Linked DNA regions of Homo sapiens: region 2 is linked to region 1. The links are contacts of gene promoters, found by promoter capture Hi-C in blood cells and fetal thymus (Javierre and others, 2016). All regions are on one chromosome and are shown on one strand. Each heading gives the region's core, a stretch centred on a gene start or on the middle of the fragment in contact. The rest is flanking DNA. Distances are from core to core; before and after follow the strand shown.

Region 1 (2,905 bases), core at 352-2,851:
TATACTTATTGATTGGAAAATATAATTAGAAGTATCTATCAGGCTATAAATTGCTTTTCTTCTCCCTTCCATGGAAATTAGTTTTTTTTTCCATTTTTAGTCAGTATGAAAATACAAGGAAAAGGAAATTCAATCAAATTTACTTTTTAACATTTTATTTGGAAATAATTTCAAACTTACAGAAAAGTTGCAAAAACAGTACAAAGAACTCATACATTCATTTACTGTTTTTCCTTTTACCCTATATATTAGTTATTTATAGCTGTGTAACAAATAACCCCAAAGCTTAGTGGCTTACACCAAGTACTTTTCATCTTACACTGTTTCTGAGTCAGGATTCCAGGAGTGGCTAAGCTAGGTGGTCCTACCTCTGGGTCTCTCATGAAGTTGTAGTCAGCCAAAGGCTTGACCAAGGTTGGAGGATCTACTTCCAAAGTGACTCACTCCGTGGCATTTGGTAGGAGGCTACAAACAGTTCCTGGACAACTGGATCTCTCCATAGGCTGCTTGAGTGTCCTGAAAACACGGAAGCAGGCTTCCCCAGGCTCCAAGCCCCAAAATGAATGAAAAAGAGACCCGCAAAGGAAGATGCAGTGCCTTTTATGACCTAGCCTCTGAAGTCAATACTGTCACTTCTGTTTTGATCTATCAAGAGTCACTAAGCCTAGTCTACACTCAAGGGGAGGGGAATTAGAGTCCACCTCTTCCAGGGAGGAATATCATTGAATCTGTGAACATATCTTAGAACTACCATACCTAGTTTCAGTACTTTTAAACATTCGCCATTTTGCTTTGTCCCTCTCTTTTCCCCACCTACATATACATACACATACATGTTACTCCCTAACCATCTGAGAGTAGGGAGCATGCGGTGTATCCCTATCCCTCGTGTTTTTCTCTTAAGGAAAAGGATATTCTATTATACAACACGGTAGTTATCAATATCTAATTTTAACATTGTGATACTTTAAAGTCCACTTCCACTTGTGTAAATTGCCCTTTCTAGCAATGTTCCCATCAAATTTATTTTTAAACAATACAGTAAAAACGTAGAGGGCCACAAAGGGTGACATCGGTCAGGTAAGGTATTTTTTTTGGCAGGGAATAAAAAAGGTCCTGGGTCTAGGGAGGTAAACAAGCGTGAGCCAGCTGAGTTCTAGCGGGGGTCCCTGAACACCAAAAGGACAAGACTGTTTCTGAAACACTACATTATCTCTTAAGTTACCCATTACTTACGGAAAATGATTTTTTACTGTTCCCTTCGGTTCCTGTCTTGGTTAGAACACAGCTGGAGATTGTGTTAATAGCTTAGGACGTCTGTTTCCGTGAGCAGGTAACAACTTTTTGAAACAAATTCCCTCATCTGCTGAAGAAGGGGGACAAAAACGGCCCCTATCGCCCAGAACCGTTGCGAGGATTTAGCTAGCTGGTGACGCCGGAGCACGAAGTTGTACAGGTAGCCAGCAGCACCCACGCGAGCCCGCGGTTACCCTGGCCGCGCGGCTACTGTAGAGTGGGCTGGCGGCGAGCGGGCGGGGCGGTATCACGCGGGAGGGGCGGGGCCCGCTCGTCGGCTGATCGCACGATTGTGACGCGCCGCCGGAGGCAGGCCGGGCCCTCAAGATGGCGGCGGGCGCCCAGAGCGGCTCGGCCCGGCAGTAGTGGTGGGACGGCACTAGCTGCTGGGGCCTGCCGCCCCGGGAGTGGCTGCAGCAGCGCCAGGAATCGAGGATGGTAAAATGACCCAGGGGAAGAAGAAGAAACGGGCCGCGAACCGCAGTATCATGCTGGCCAAGAAGATCATCATTAAGGACGGAGGCACGGTGAGCTGAGTTCCGCGCCGGCGAGCGTCCCTCGGGGCCCCCATCCGGTCTCTCCTTCAGACCCCCACACTGCCGTCTCTAGGCGTCCCGGTGCCTCCCTCCCTTCCCCCACCCTGTCCGAGCTGCCGGTGCCTCGGGGTCGCGGACCCGCATGCCGCCGCTCCGGGAATCGTCCTCCGCTGCTCGGGCTTGCGGCCTCCGGGGCCCGTCCTCTTTCTTTCCCGCACCTGCCGCCCTCTGCTCTGGCCGCCTCTGCAGGCCCTGCGGCCTCGAACCCCACGTGCGCCTCCGCCGCGGGGAGGAATGTGCGGGGCTCCCCCGGCGGCCCGCCCGCCGCGCCCCTCGTCGCCGCAGCCTCGCCTCGCCTTCGCCGCCAGGCCCCGCGGAGCCGTCGCCGCGCTTGTCAAGGGGCTGGGAACCATCCCTGCTCTCCCATATGTTGCTAACGGGGTGGCGTCTGGCGCGGGGATCCCGCTGCGGCCCCGTAGTACGTTCGCTTTCTGTTTCCACGTCTCTCTGCGTCGGTGCTCCGGCTCTGGGCTGCTTACAGTAAACCCTGACCGGAGATGGGCTTCCCTCACTTCCCGGAGTCGGAAGCATGACGGCAGACACCTGGGGCCTACATTCGAACCTGCTAGTTTTCAAAGAAAAGTCATCACTGTGTGTCTTAAGATCAAAAGTATTAGAATCAGTCATGGCCTAAGGATCGGAGGAGGACACTTTGAAGGGAAGAAAGGTTTGCTTTTTAGAAACAGTTGTCATCACAGTAAACTTTATGCAGTGTGTAGTTAACCAGCTGGGGACGTAGGATTTTTAATTGAAAAACAAAACAAAACAAAACTGTTTTATGCTAACATTTCTCCGTTGCTACACTGTGTGGTCTTTGTTGCATCCGCTGATACCGCGTTCTGAAATAGAATGGAAAGGTGATATATATGTTTCACTTACCTGAAGTGTGCAGAAATTGTACCATTAATTCCATTTCTGTTTATATCTTATTGGAGCCGCGATCAACTGCTAGCACAGTAGTAAATGTGTAAGTAGGCCACCATTGAGGATTTGCTGAATTCAGTTGAAAAACG
Region 2 (3,070 bases), core at 458-2,957, 830 kb after region 1:
ACTAGTGATGTTTATTAAGTTAGAATTCACTTGGAGACAGTGTTTCTGGGGAGATAGGATTAGGATGTAGGGGAGGTTCCAACAGAGCTAAACTCTACGGGATAATTTTTTCTTGCTGGGAAGTATAATATAGCTACTTTAAAACCTATTAATTCAATACTCACGTTTAGGGTTATGGAATTTTGAAACGGGAAATAAATTTCCTGACCATTTAGTTTGTCATTCTCTTTTGTATATGTGGAAATTGAGACCCAGATAAATTTAATTAACTTAGTCACCTAGCTGATACTAGAAAGAAAGTTCCCTGATTCTCCCATCGCAAGATTCTTTTCTATATAAATTGTCTTCACTAGCTGTATATTATTTATTGTTTAAACCAAAAATATTTGGACACACATACTCACACATAAGTATGCTTACCTGAGAATTTATATTTAGCTTATTTTAACTCAACCATGCCGACTTTCTCTGAGACATTATTAAAACACACAGCATATTATATAATATTTCTCTGTGGTGCTTCAGAAATATATATATTCATTCATATGTTCCCTCCCAGAAAATCAAGCTCCATTCTCTATTTCTTCAATATGTGAAAATAGAAAGAGGTATGTGGATGAGAAAAAGAAAATGAATCAAAAATAAACCTTAACCAGGGAAATTTCTGGCTCTTTGATGAGGTTGAGGGTCATAGCATCATGCATCAGATGTTTTATCAGAAATACAAGCACATTTTCCCTTAATGTTCTGTTCCAATAGGCATTGTTATACAGGATAAAACTTTAAAAATGCAACTTTCATTGTGATAAGTAGTGTGATATGATACAAGACTGATGAAATATTCCATAATATAATGCCAAATATATTTTTTCTCAACTTTAGCACTACTGACATTTTGGGACACTTAGTTCTTTGTGGTGAGGGCCTGTCTTGTGCATTGTGGGATGCTTAGCAGCATCTCTGGCCTCGACTCACTAGACGCCAGTAGCAAGCCCTCCATTGTAACAACCAAAAATGTCTCCAGACATTGCCAGATGTCCCCTCGGGGGCAAAATCAGTCCAGGTTAGGACCTACGGCTATAAAGTAAGACTGATTGCTTCAGATATATATATTTTTAAACTACTGAAAATATTCCAATCAAGAATTTGATTCTTTTTCCTTTTAGATAAAAGAAATATTGACATATGAAAAAGAAAAGAGACTTGAGGCCTCTCTAGATTAAATAAATACTTCATTTACATATTCCTTCTGAGCTAGAGCTAAAGTGGGCCCCTTAAATTGCTTTCAGTACTTGCATACTTACTCTCGCTTCTTTTTATACTCTAAGGTATAATTCTGACACAGTTACTACTTCACAACCAAGCTTTCTTTTTAACTGTTGGCCAAGCTGCTGTTTATCAGTGATGGCTTTTACAATATTCTTTAATTTTCCTGCTATTGCAAAGTTCTCTTTACACGTTATGGCCTGTGAATCTTGGGGCAGGTATTTTCATCCCTATTCTTCAGATGAAATTAAGTCAACCCAGGACTCAGTGCATGTTTCTAGGGTACCAAATGGTCTTTTTTTCATCTATGGTAGCTATATATTTGAGTTGTATATTAAGAAGGCTTTCAAGGAGTGGAGGAAAGAAGAATGAGGGAGGGGAAGAAGGAGGGAAGGGAGAAAGTGAACAAAGTTGAAAGCAACTTAGTGGAACAATAAACGATAAAAGCTGGCATGGGATAGAGGATGATATAATCTCACCATTTAAGTCATTGTGGCAACCTTTGAGATTCAGTACCTTCATACTCATCCTCCATCACAGCAATATCCTCCACTCCCTCTCCCACATTCCACTCCCTGTCCCTCCTACCCCCTCAAGTGCATGTATTCTAGCACACACAGATATCCCTTCCTGGCCTCAGGTTCAAAGCCTTAGGTCTTCCCAGAGGAAACAAATGTGGCCATTTCTGTTGCTTCCAAACGGTTTATTGCTGGTACCAGGAAATTTTCATTGTTTATACTCTAAACCTTGGAGTAAAGTTTTTAGAAGCTGTCAAATGCTTCCTGAAGCTTATATTGCCCTCCAGTTTTTTTGATAGTTGATTGCCTGCCTTTTCAGTCTTCTCAACACAGAGTTCTATGAATGAGCAGCCTTTCAAATCCAGCACTATTTGAGTATTTTATATGTAGAAAAAATATATGAAAGAACCTGTTAAATAATACTCAATTTTGGGAAACTGACAGGAAACAGGTGCTCTCAGATGTGGTATGAATAGGCTAGCCATGTCAACACCTCTGGAAGCATTTAGCAGTATGTAGCAAAACCCTAAAAGCACACACACTACTAGATAGACCCAGGTATTGAACTTTGTTGGACTTGATTTTAAAGAAATAATTATAGATATGCTCAAAGATATCTTTTCAAGGCAAAGATACTTATCCAAATGTTTTTATAATGGTAAAAAAGTATAAAATAAAATGGTAGTATGATTGAGTGCATAAATTATGGTTTATTCATATAATAAAATACCAGATAAATCATGCTAGTAAAATATATGCCTAGAAAAGTCTGCAGGAACACATACAAAAATGCCATTGTTAATTGGGGTAGTGGGCTTTTAATTACTTCTTTATACTTTTCTGAATATGCCAAAATTGCCGGAATGAATATATACTGCTTTAATCATAAGAAAAATAGTATTTGACAGAGCGAGACTCCGTCTCAAAAAAAAAGAAAGGAAAAACAGTATTTGAAATAAATAATGAATAGGAGATGAAACTGCCATGGTTCCTTACCCATAGTTAAATGCAAATAATTTCCTGAATGTCTCACCTGGTGGATGCAGGGGCTTCCTAACACCTAGGTGGTGAGTGGAAGGATTAATTCTGTCCTTATTATCAATAACACTGTCATCCCAACAGCTTTCATTTACTGAACATCTAAAATGGGCAAGGCACTGTGCTGTATTTATGCAAGTTATCTCTTTTATTCCTTAAAACAAACTCCAGGCAGATATTATCCTTATTTTGCAGATAAGGAAACTGAGTAAAGAGAAAATGAGGTCTAGCAAGGATTTGAGCCCAAG

What was found. Contacts are between HindIII fragments. The CHiCAGO score rates a contact against its expected background, and 5 or more counts as called.
Region 2: a fragment that was not itself captured here is called in contact with the fragment with the promoter of SLC71A1 in region 1 in 8 of 17 cell types (activated CD4 T cells, non-activated CD4 T cells, megakaryocytes and 5 more); the score reaches 6.8 in activated CD4 T cells.

Annotation. Positions count from the first base shown.
Region 1 is chr1:100,036,494-100,039,398 of GRCh38, forward strand. It overlaps SLC71A1 (solute carrier family 71 member 1), which reads left to right and starts at 1,602. Exons shown (of 12, transcript NM_033055.3): 1 at 1,602-1,823. The coding sequence starts at 1,740. It overlaps LOC124904230 (a long non-coding RNA gene), which reads right to left and starts at 1,515. Exons shown (of 7, transcript XR_007066251.1): 1 at 1,237-1,515. RefSeq lists enhancers at 1,074-1,676, 1,639-1,918 and silencers at 1,399-1,578, 2,039-2,228. The HindIII fragment of the contact is 6,938 bases long and covers 284-2,905 here.
Region 2 is chr1:100,868,895-100,871,964 of GRCh38, forward strand. No RefSeq gene overlaps it. Among named protein-coding and RNA genes, the nearest start is that of EXTL2, 24 kb to the right of the region's middle. The HindIII fragment of the contact is 690 bases long and covers 1,363-2,052 here.